Linked DNA regions of Homo sapiens: all the other regions are linked to region 3. The links are contacts of gene promoters, found by promoter capture Hi-C in blood cells and fetal thymus (Javierre and others, 2016). All regions are on one chromosome and are shown on one strand. The core of a region is centred on a gene start or on the middle of the fragment in contact, and the rest is flanking DNA. Distances in the headings are between cores, read along the strand shown. Region 1 overlaps NBEA (neurobeachin). Region 2 overlaps NBEA (neurobeachin). Region 3 holds the start of PDS5B (PDS5 cohesin associated factor B).

What was found. The method cuts DNA at HindIII sites, captures the fragments that hold promoters and counts their contacts. A CHiCAGO score of 5 or more calls a contact.
Region 1: a fragment that was not itself captured here is called in contact with the fragment with the promoter of PDS5B in region 3 in 2 of 17 cell types (naive B cells and total B cells); the score reaches 8.8 in naive B cells.
Region 2: a fragment that was not itself captured here is called in contact with the fragment with the promoter of PDS5B in region 3 in 1 of 17 cell types (fetal thymus); the score reaches 6.6 in fetal thymus.

The regions. Positions count from the first base shown.
Region 1 is chr13:35,164,592-35,168,649 of GRCh38, forward strand. The region is part of intron 24 of NBEA (neurobeachin); the gene reads left to right. Among named protein-coding and RNA genes, the nearest start is that of NBEA, 220 kb to the left of the region's middle. The HindIII fragment of the contact is 3,263 bases long and covers 647-3,909 here.
Region 2 is chr13:34,943,204-34,946,882 of GRCh38, forward strand. The region is part of intron 1 of NBEA (neurobeachin); the gene reads left to right. Among named protein-coding and RNA genes, the nearest start is that of NBEA, 2.8 kb to the left of the region's middle. RefSeq lists a silencer at 618-707. The HindIII fragment of the contact is 994 bases long and covers 896-1,889 here.
Region 3 is chr13:32,583,641-32,587,840 of GRCh38, forward strand. It overlaps PDS5B (PDS5 cohesin associated factor B), which reads left to right and starts at 2,812. Exons shown (of 35, transcript NM_015032.4): 1 at 2,812-2,953. It overlaps PDS5B-DT (PDS5B divergent transcript), which reads right to left and starts at 2,805. Exons shown (of 3, transcript XR_001749808.1): 1 at 2,737-2,805; 2 at 2,164-2,282; 3 at 1,378-1,929. RefSeq lists silencers at 2,497-2,866, 2,877-2,956, 3,377-3,626 and an enhancer at 3,857-3,916. The HindIII fragment of the contact is 4,434 bases long and covers 659-4,200 here.

The sequences.
Region 1 (4,058 bases), core at 1,028-3,527, 2.6 Mb after region 3:
CATTTTAACCAGACCTGTACTTTTTAGGCAAATTTTTAACCATTTAAATTTCTATTTCCACCACTTTTGTTTATCAGTGTTGGGTTCCAGCTGTGTGTGCTTATGAAAATGTTTCTCTGGTAATTCTGATGAATACTTCATCAGAAGAGTATTGCATTCTTCATCAAAGATATTGTATATCTCTTCAAATCTGTAGTATAAATAAACTCTTAAAATCCTTGTTATTTAACATTTTCATTTATTTACTGATTCAACATTTATTTTACAAAATCTAGCCTTGTCTTGATTTGTTTCTATATAAAACATTGAAATGTGTTAATATAATACATTTTAAAGGCATTTAATGTTAATTGTGTATGTCATTTAAAATAAAATAGGTCAATGTTAACTTTGTATTTTAGTTGTCATTAAAAACAAATTCTTTGATTCAGACCAAGGCAGACTCCATAGCTACTTGCTCAGATGGGAAAGAATATAGAATTTTGCTTCCCATATTACCCACGTTCTTGTTGCCGTATTAGAAACTCATCCTTAAGCTCAGAAAGCATACCTTTGCCAGAGGGAAATATTTCATTTTACTAAGATGTGCTTTAGTTGGTGAGACACTGTTTCCAAGTTGATCTCTAAGTGTATTTCATCATTAACAAGCTTTTTCTACATGACTCTTTTTCTTACTGTTCTTTTGTTAATGCCACCACCATCACCAGAGCAGCCTTGAAACTTCAACATTAGCAGCCATAGGCTATATCCTCACACACTTTCCCCAGGCCTTACTCTTCTGTTTTATTCATGAATTTGCTCAAGAAGTCCACAAAGGGAAGCATTCCAGTTCAGAAGGAGGAATGCAACAGAGCAAGTCACCAGTAGGGCCTTAATCAAATTAGCAGCTGAACCAAGGAAATGGAGCTAAGAAGAACAGTATAAATTGTTGATGGTGTGTGAAGAGTGCAAGTATACATACACCACTCCTTTTCTTTAATCTCTCTTTTCCTCTGGTGATTTATACCAAATTCTGGTAAATTGAGAGTTGTGTATGATTTTTAAAATGCTTTCTAATAGTGAGACATAGAGGGCATTTTTTTCTTCTCTTTTCTTTTCTTTTTTTTTTTTTTTGACAGAGTATCATTCTGTGACCCAGGCTGGAGCAGAGTAGGGCGATCTCAGCTCACTGCAACCTCCGCCTCCTGGGTTCAAGCAATTCCTCTGCCTCAGCCTCCCAAGTAGCTGGGATTATAGGTGTGCACCACCACACCCAGCTAATTTTTGTATTTTTAGTAGTTATGGGGTTTCACTATGTTGGCCAGGCTGGTTTCAAACTCCTGACCTCAAATGATCTGCCTGTCTCAACCTCCCAAAGTGCAGGGATTACAGGCATGAGCCACTGCTCCCGGCCAACGTGTTTTTTGTTTTATATATTGAAGACTGAATAAATCAATATTTTCTTTGTGACATTTTTCTTGATCATATAAATTGCATTTTGTTTTATAAATTATCATTTGTTATGAAGAAATTTTTAAAAGGTTGTATTGAAATTCACTTTGAAATGTAATATTGAATGTTTTTAAATTTTGCATGGAACATAAAATGCTTCTTATGTAAAAAAAACAGTTTAGCAATAAGTTATTTCAATTTGTATAGGTTTAAAATATTCACATTACTAAATAGTTTTCCAAATTTTAAAGGCAAAAGATCTTTAACTATTAAGATAGAATATTAAAGTAATGAAGTAAACTATAACATACATACTATTGCACCAGTCAAATTTGCTTATTTGTTTTATGATGATTGTACAGTAAAGATACTGACGCTTTGAGGTTGGCTTCCAAAATTATTACGATTCAATTTTGACCACTGTAGTTTGGAATTTAAAATTATTTATTACCTAGACTATCTCAACAGACTTGGGAATTCATTCAATTATAGAAACCTTTGTTTATTTTCTCAATTTCTATATTTCTGTTATTTTGGCCCATTAACTGTTTGGACCTATGCCTGGTTGTACAACATAGCTGATTTTATGTTTTTAGAATGAATTGCTTCCTTAAGAGAAATAGCCGAACCTTTCTCCCATTTTGTATCTGGTAGAACTATGATTGGTGCTGACTGCTGAATGTTGTTTTTCTATTATGAATGTTGTTTTTGTATTACTGGGTTGTATAATATTCTTGCTAGAAGTTGTAACATAGCAGAGGGAAAAAGTTGGGAAAGAGGAGGTTGAATAATGAGGGAAATTAAACCGAATATTTGGGCTTTTTATATTTAAATTTAAAGTGTAAAAAGCCAAAAGAGAATTTTGGAAGGGATAAGTGAAAAAAGGAAACATTGGCAACGTGAAGATTACTGAAAGGAAACATTGTCTTGTAGGTGCTTTTAGAATTTTAATCCTAGATATATGAAGAGAGATGGAAACATTTGAAACTAAGGTTTGAGTGAGCTGGTAATTTTGTTTATATATATATAGTTTTTCAGAATATTCTTGTGTGCATTTTATGAAGAAATAGGAATAATAATGGTTTATGGCAGTAGTTCACAAACTTTTGTGTATGGGGCCAGATGGGAAATAGTTTAGGTTTCATTGGCAGTATTGTTATCTGTCACAGCTAGTCAACTCTGCTGTGATAGTACAAAAGCAGCAATAGACAATACATAAACAAATATTTTTTGTCTGCTGTTTCTGTGAGATTGACATAGAAGTGGTCTCTTTTCTGCCCTGGAAATTTAGATGAGTACAGTAATTTATACTAGAGATAACATTTTTGTATTGCTGTTATAGTATCATCATCATGGAAGAAAATTTTTGAACTGTTTAATCTTAGTTGGAAGGTACATATCTTAATGGAAACTTAAGAAAAAAAGAACATATATATATTGTTTATAATGATAGTTTGAGCACCTTGAACTTAGTACTCTTGAAGAAGCAGCACTTTATGGGAGTTTCAGTTTTGCCCAGATTACTTAAATTCATATGTAGCATAGAAAATAAATTACAAAAATAGTTTCAGATCTCCGAGTTAGACCAATAGTTTTAACTGTACTCAGGGAAAAAAAATAGACCTCTTAGTATGTAGTTTGGCCAATCTTTGCTTTGGGAAAGCAGCATTATTTTTGTTGTTGTTGATTTTTTTAGTTGATGTTTCTGTGACTAGTTAATTGAATCCTCTCATTTATTCTCTAATATATTGTTTAACTTGGTCATAAATGAAAGTGAAAAATTGGAGAAGAAAAAGAAAAGCAAAGAACATGGATCAACCACAAATTGCACACTTTGTGATTTTAAGTTGACCACTTTAGTCAGCCATCCAGAACACTGAATATTATGGAGCTTAATTCAGGGCTTAATTTTCTCTGTCCCAGAAAAATAGTAGAGACTGACATTTCTAGCTCTCCTAATAGTTTCATAATTATAAGAAAGAAGAGCTGCTTTTTCTATTCTGTCCAAAAATAACAAAGTCTTAATTTTAGTTTATTTTTATTATCAGAATGTATCATAAATAGATTTGGAAAAATTATGAATAATGTTGTTGGTTTTGCTGTTCTTTTGTTTATGTCATAGGACTGATCATACTTTACTATTCTCAGGATGCTTTTATATGTTTTCCTATACAATGTACCATGAAAATAGCATATTTTAAGATTTATACTCACATGTACTTGTCAAAAATTAGAAAGAATAGTTGATGATTTTTATTGTGAAAACTAATTCTATCTGATATTTGAATATAATGAATATAATTATTAATGTAATAAGAATCTTAAACTTAGTATAATACCTATTTAATTACCTTTATTCATATTCAGGCCTCATTTAGTATATCAAGTTATTTTCTAGCATGGAAAAGTGGTTTATAAGTTATAATCTCTCAAATATTTTGTTATTTTATTAACTTCTCAGAATTTTCAACTATAGGAAGCTTTCTGTATATTTGAGAATACAAATTACATTATTTCCTTATAGAAAATTCTAGAGGTTGGTATAAATAGTTCATTTCCCTGAGTCATTTCTGCCTAAACCAGAATTGAGGTAGGGATTTTGCAGAGGCATTATGTTAGCTTATTTA
Region 2 (3,679 bases), core at 143-2,642, 2.4 Mb after region 3:
TCACACGCGCCGCGCGTCCCTGGGAGCGCAGAGCGTTCAGCCGGTATTGCCCAGCGGGTGACCTGCCTGCGCGCTGCTAGAGCCACGCCACCTCCCTCCTCTCCTCTTTCTGGTCCTCTCCTGCCACCTGAGCGCAGTGCCCAACTTAACACCGCTTCTTCTCACTTTTTAGGACCGCGAGTAACCCAGTACCCGCGGTGAAGGTTTTGGGTCGACTTTAGAGTTTAGTTAGGAGGTGAGGAGGCCTCCTGTTCTCTGGGGTTCTTTTTCTCACACTTAATTGTCCTTGGTGTCGCTCTCCGAGGATGACAGCCTTGCCCCTGGAGCCTAAATTCCCCCGTGCTGCTGAAATGTGAGAAGCGCATTAGCTTCCAACTTGAGCAGCTGGGGTGTGATGTTTTCGAAGGAGACAGAAAATGATGCAGTTTTGCATCTGTCTTTAAATATTCCAAGGCCATGATGGAGAGTGTTGTGTCTGTATCCATCCCCCTCCATCTCAGAAGCAGCCGTCCCTTCTTTGTAATATTGCCCTGAATATACTGATCTCTTAGTCATTTTTTGTGCACACAAGGTGTGTGAGGACACCAAATCACACAGGTTGATTTCTGTGGTTACTTTCAGTAGTGTGGCATGTGGGTAAAGACTAAAGGAAAGGTTTTAAACGCAGCCCTAGGTTTTGGTTCCTTTCATGGTAAGAAAGAGTTACTGCAGAAGTGTGTATGACTTAATGTTTTGCGCTATCTACAGAGAGGCTCAGAAGCGTTTAAGATGTCAGGGAAAGAAATGGAAAGAAGGAGAGGAGAATCATACATTGAGGATAATTAACAGTAGTTCATATTTAGTGCTTTGTAAATGGAGGTTTTGTTTTGTTTTGTTTTGTTTTTAAATGCAGCCAAGCTTTTTAAACAGTTTTCTCTGCAATAGATCTAGTCTTTGACATACTGTAAGGTTGGGCTTTGGGAGGCAAGACATAAATCGAGAGCAATCAGTTGAGTATTGTATTTGGTGTGGGGTCACAGGAATATAACAATATGCTTACAGGGGTACTTTGTAACACCCATGCAGTCATTTTTCAGCTAAGCAATTATTTTTACTTACTCTATTGGAAAACTGAGAGAAAGCTGCAGCTACATCAGTGGTGTCCTGAGACATGCATTAGATAATGTCTACGGTTTATGAACCTCGTAAATGCACAGAAAAGTTGAAGCTGTTTTTTTCCTTTTGCTAGTGTGTCAGGTCAAAGGAGATTATCTGTCTTTGTTATATTCATTGCTGTTTAAAACAAAACACCTCTTTTTACTTTTTTGTACCTTTCAAATAAATCATCATGAAAAGTCAGTGTAAGTTTGAGGGAATGTCACTAAGTTGATATAACCAAGTTCTTTTCAGAACACTACTAGAAATACAGTTTTCTTGAGTTTTAATTTTAACTAGCTGCAAATAAGAGGTCAGTACTTGCCATTTCTTTTTAAAAGAAGATAAATCTCAAACTGTTAGTATGTTAGCAGGTAACTGTATTTCTGTAATTTAAAGGAACACATTTTTAGTTGCAGTTTTGATCTAACCAATATCATTTTTAAGTTAGATTATATTAGGCTATTTTAGTAAGTATTCCTATGCTTACTTAATACATTTTAACCTGGTAAGAGGCAGTAGAGCTTTCACAACCTGGAAACTGATTTGAATGTATAACCAGTTTGGACTCTGCAGCAGTAGCAATGTGTGCTGAATCAGTTCTTAACAGATGGGGTTTTTTAGATATACGGTAGACTAAGAAAGGAAGTGAAATGTTTCTCTTGAGATAAAAAAGAAATTTAACTCTTCAGAGCAATGAAAATCTGACATGAAGTTTCAGTATGCAGACGTTATTTTAGAGAACTTTACCATTAAGCTTAGAGTCACTAGAAATAAAGTAATACTGAGATAGTATATCCCCAAATCTACCTAAGATTTTGTAACTGCAATGATATTTGGAATTTAAAGAGTTAGGTTTAAAATTTCTTTGTATGTATTTAAAGAATGCAATAGATTTTTAAATAGAAACTTTTGGAGAAAAGAATAAATGACAAAAGGAGCTGTTTATTACTAAGTTGTTAATTATATTAATTGTGGAGTATAAATTAGTCATTTGAAGTGTAATTTTCTTGAACTGTAGATTTAGGGCTTTATTGTCCAATACACTCATGAAAATGTCATATGAAAATTTAAGTGGATTCTCAAAAATATGTGGAAGTCATGGGCATTTAAAAAACTGATTATCAAACTTAATTCTATTTATTTAGTAAGTAAACCAATAAAATTCATATAGGACACTCAGTGACTCGTTAGAGTTTGGAAACCTTTAATATTAAATCTAAAATGATTTTTTAAAATTTTCAGTTTTAGTTTAACACATTAAATAAAAATGTAAGGTGAAATAGTGAAATACCTATTACTGTGCCCTGAATGACAGAAAAGAAAGGAGAACTAATGAAACTTCAAAAAAAAGAGGAGTTTCTACCTTAAACAATACCTTTGTCTCAGTCGCCTTTGTCAGTATATTTTTCTTTCTTTTTCCTGTTTATTTTTTCTTCCTATGTAAGGATACTCATAAATACTTGGTTTTTAGGTGCTGTTTCTCACATGCCTTGGCCAAAGAATTAAAAGCTGGGCAGAGTGAAGTTTTAAGCATGCACTAAAGTGTAGGACTTCTTCAACAGAGCGGTGGCTGTAATTTTTCTGCTTTGTTTCCCAAAGGTCTAGAGACCTATTTTTACTACTAGGTGGATTGTGGGAGTTTGGTGAGGAATCACCAATGTGATATGATATAAAATTAGTCATTTTTATTAGAGATGTATGTATTTTGTATAATGATGTTATAGTTGACTTAAAACAGTGAAATATGGAATGGATAATGTTAGGAAGGTAGGTAAATTAGTTTGTGAATAAAGTTACAGTCAGAGTGCATTGTCAAGGATTTTGCATTGTAGCTCTACTAATGAAAGAAACTGATCGTTAACAAAGTTTGGCTTCTGGAGGAATTATTTAAAGTGGCAATATAAGAGAATTTAACTACAGAGAAGAGATTTTGTTGATTGTTTTCAGTTGTAAAACTGGCGTACTACCTAATCTATTACTTCTTTTGTAAACACACTTAACATATGTTTATATAAGCTTTATCCATATTTGAAGTAAAAGCTATGTAAGTATCGTGTTATTGTTGCTTATAACATGGAAGTTTCTTTTATAAACATAAATTTCTAGAAAAATATGTTTATAATAGAGGATTAATATTTACTTAGTGAAAGAATTCATAATTTTTTTGGAATGGCTTTCTTATGTGTATAGTATAATTCTATGATTATAATTATGGAATTTAATTATAGACAAATTTTTTATGAATAACTGAATTCATGAAATTTTTTCATGAAATTTTTTCATGGATTTGTAGTTTTTTTTCATGAGTTACAGTGAGTTATATCAGTGTGTCCAGTTGTAGAAAATGATATTTCCTCTGATTTTTTTTTTTTTTTACATTCTAAGTGGCATGCTGTTGGCTGAACTGGAAGCCTAATAAGATGCTTTGAAGGGATTTGTGGTTTACCAAATTTCTCTCATCTTGGCTTATGGATCATGGTATTTTTGTTAAAAGGGTAACTTTAAGGTTTTTTTTTTTTTTGTACTTGAATATGGCAGTAAC
Region 3 (4,200 bases), core at 1,562-4,061:
GTGACAAAAGCAGGTCAGAGAGACGCCATGGAGCTGGCTTTGCGGATGGAGGAAGGAGGATATGAACCAAGGGATCTGGGCAGCCTCTGGAAGAAGGAAATAGTAAGAAAAGGGATTCTCCTTTGGAGCCTCCAGAAAGACACACAGCCCTGACAACACCTTGATTTTAGCCCAGCGAGATACCTGTCAAACTTCTGCACTCCAGTAAGACAATAAGTTTGTGCTCTTTTAAGCCACCAACTTTGTGATGATTTGTTATAGTGACAAAGTAAAATTAGTAGAGGTGGGAACTACATTTGTGGTTATTCATAATCAAAGACAATTCTCCTAACCATTTCTGTATAAAACCAGCATTTGGACATAATTCCCACATAATTTCTCTTTCTTGGTGTAGAAAGCATTCACAACTGAGTTTTGAATGGTTCACACTCTTAAACTGTCTTAAACAATGTTGTGTTATGTTGCTCCTAATGAATTGCAACTTGGCTATTTTTAAAAATCCCAAACACAGAAGATTATTTTTGTTCAAATATCAACTTTAGATTTTAGTTTTCCCAAACAATATTGTTTTAAATGAAGGTTTATATTACTGATTTCTGTAAAGCCACTTGCAGTCATATAAAAGTATGCCCTTTTGTTAGAAACTATGCCTCATTAAAGCTTTAGGGTTTTTCCTCTGTCTGTCCTAATGGTAATTGCCCCATTGACCCTTACAATGTAGCTATTTTGAAGGCTATCTCCTTTCTGCCCACTCTTTTCTTGGGCTTAATCCTGTGGTGTTAGCAGCCTAACGTGGGCAATATGTATTCCGGGCCTCATTGAAATTCAAGGCATCATTTTATAAGAGAGAGGGTTAATGGTGAAACTGGCAAAACTGCTCACAAAGTTGACGTGACACCTTCAGCCCTTTCAGGACTCACTGCCATATACAAGATGTAGAGTGACATTCTTAAACAATTCATACATCCAACAAAATATTTACTGAGGCTTCCAGGTGTCAAATAATGGGGATAAGAGCACTGAATAATTTATACAAAAACTCTTAGCCGGGCATGGTGGCTCACGCCTGTAATCCTAGCACTTTGGGAGGCTGAGGCAGGCAGATCACGAGGTCAGGAGATCGAGACCATCCTGGCCAACATGGTGAAACTCTGTCTCTACTAAGAATTACAAAAAATTAGCTGAGAGTGGTGGTGTGTGCCTGTAGTCCCAGCTGCTTGGGAGGCTGAGGCAGGGGAATTGCGTGAACTCAAGAGGGAGGTTGCAGCGAGCCAAGATCGCGCCACTGCACTCCAGCTTGGCGACAGATCAAGACTCCATCTCAAAAAAAAAAAAAAAAAAAAGAAAGAAAAAAGAAAAAAAAATTCTTGCTTTCATCCTGGCTTTCTTCTGAAACTTTCTGGCTTCCTGGCTTTGGAGGTTTGGGAATTGAAGAAAATAAAGTAAAAAACATAATAAAAACAACCAAAGAGGAAAGGTTTTTCTAGATCTAGACATCCTACTCTCCCATACAAGATTTATGTTGATGGAACAACGATGTAAAATAAGAAAATTCCTGAGATAATTTTAAAAAGAGGGCAGAAAAAACTCATAGTAGACTTCATCGAGGAATGTATAAAATGGGTAGAACCTGGAGTATTCAGTGGCAAAATCTTGGACACAGGAATACAGTAACACAACATATTGGTCTAGCAAGCACTGGAGGAGACTGAGGCGGAATTGTCCAGCGAATCCCACAAAAATGGAAATGAAGAGGTCTCAGTATCTCTAGGTGCCCGGGTCCGATGGAATACCGATGTACATACCTTTTCTAACACAGTAGCATTAGTTTATATATCAGCATTACCTCTCTTTTGTTTCAGTTGATAAGTATCCTACTGTAATCCATTCATTCACACTTTGCTTGTTCATTGTTGAAACAAATTCTCCCTGGAACAAAATTCTAGTAACCAAATACATCATATCAGGGGAAACTTCCTTACAGCAGGGATGGTATTAAAGTAAAAAGAGGAGGAAGTCCCTTCTTCAGCTCTGGCAGGGACCCGGCTGGGGAGGAAACCTTCCCGCAAGGTAGGTGATCTGCTGTGGTGACCAGGCTAAACCCACTCTACAGCTGCAGGAGGGACTGGCATCCCTTAGAGGTGAAGAGGGGAGGAGACCCACCTCCTGGAATGTGTCCCTGTGGTCTCCAGATGATTTCTTCCTCTAATAAGGACAATTCTGCCAAAGGAATGGAATGCTTCGTCACAGGCTCAATTACTCTGTCTCCGCCAGCCTACCACCTATAAACAATTCCTCAAATTAGGAAAGCGGGGAGATTTAATAAAGACATAACACGTAAAGTGTAGGAAAACTATTTGTATGGCATTCCGAGACGACTAGGTCAGAGTTAACAAGTAAGGAGCAAAGTAGTTAATAATACCAATTCTGTTTACCCATCACAACACCTGTGCTGAATGTCAGGGTTTAAAAAAATCTCCCAACCTTTATCTAAAAAGATAGGGCTACGTAACAATCGGTGTGGTTTTTGTCGGTAGAGGTCTAGGAAGCCGCAAGAGTAGTGGACGCCTTGACAGCTGCCCTTCTCGCGGGCCCCGCGGCGGCGTGCCCGTGTGGTTGCGTGCGCGCGGACGGGGCGGGGCTGAGGAGGGACGTGCGCGCGCGCGGACGGGGCGGGGTGGAGCTCGGAGGGCGGACGCGCTCGGGGCCGTCTGGTCGGCAGGGGGCGCTGCGCACCCATGCCGCGCTCTGCCTGCCCCCGGGTGCTGTCCGCGGCGGTTCGATTGGAGCAGCCGCCGAAGAGCGCTTGGCGCCATTTTGAAGCGGAGAGGAGGAGGAACGGCAGGGCTGGCTGCGGAAGGGGAGGGGGGGGGAGAAGGCGATTGGATGCGGCGGCGGCGGCGGATCCCGGAGAGCCCCGGAGTGAGCGGAGTAGCGAGTCGGCAACCCGGAGGTAGGAAACAATTCAGTTAACGGAAAGAAAATGTCTCTCTTCTCTGGCTGCGGCGCTCCATTTTTCAGCGGCCGCCACTGCCGCTGTGTGCGTGTGTGTGGCAGGGCTGAAGCGCCGCCCGCCTGGGTGCCAGGCGCGACTCGCCTCCCGGCATCGGGGGCTGCAGCGGGTGGCTGCCTGGCGGTGGCCCGGGGCGGGGGTCGCGGGGCGCGGGCCGGCTGCGCGGTGGGGGTGGGGAGGGCCCCGCGGCCGGCGCGCGCCTCCACGCCGCGGGTTCTGCCGCAGCCTCTGGAAAATTAAACTTGCCGCTCTGATCCCGGCCGGGGCGGCGGCGGCGGCGGGCGGTGACCTTGCGCGCGGGCGGGGGTCTCGGGGCCGCCCGGCCGCCCGCGCCCTCCCGCCGCCGCCGTCGCCGCCGCCGCGCCCCTCCCCCCGCGCCCCGGCCGGCCGGCGGCTGTTTCCCGGGCGGCAGGCGGGCGGCGCGGTGCTCCTGTTGAATCCTCCCGCGGGCGGGCTTCTCCCCCTTCCGGGCGAGGGGCGGGCGGGGACCGCGGGTCGGGGCCGCGGGCGCTCTCGCCCCCGCCGCCGGGTCCCCGCGCGCCGCCTGGCCTCCGCTTCGGGCCAGGGGACGGGCTGAGCGTGACATTTTTGCACTGTCCCTCGCCGCTCGCCGGAGGGAAATCGCGCTCACCGCGCCACCCCGAGTGGTCCCCGAGCAGCCAGTTGAGGAAGAGCCCAGCACTGGCGTGGAGGGACTCCTCCCAGGCCACAACTGGGTTCTAGCTTTCCTTTCAGAAGGAACGGCGGGGAAAATGGTGTGCAATTGTGACTCGTTATTGTTTTTACACTGTTATTTTAATGTTACTTTAAAAGTTTTCGGTCCGGAGAAAAACCTTGTTTGTTGTTGTTGCTGCTACTGCTGTTGGTTTTTGGTAGAGACGTGAAAGCTAACTCTTAAGTAGCTCGACAGTTATTTTGGACGAATGACTGAAACCAGAAACGCCGCCCCTCGCCTTCGGAGCTGCAGGCTGCTGCGTTCCTTGCCGCGGACGGGGCGAGCTCCGGGAAGGGTTGGTAGAGCAGCTACCCACCCACTCCACGCGCGTCTTCAACAGCCTCTCTCCCCCAGCGAGGGTTAACCCTTTTTTATGTCGAAGAAAGTGCTTCTCGTACTTTTAATAAGAGGTGATGGATGGGCAGTGGTGCCCAGACTGATCCTACCCTGTTGATGAAATAGTTTCGAAAAC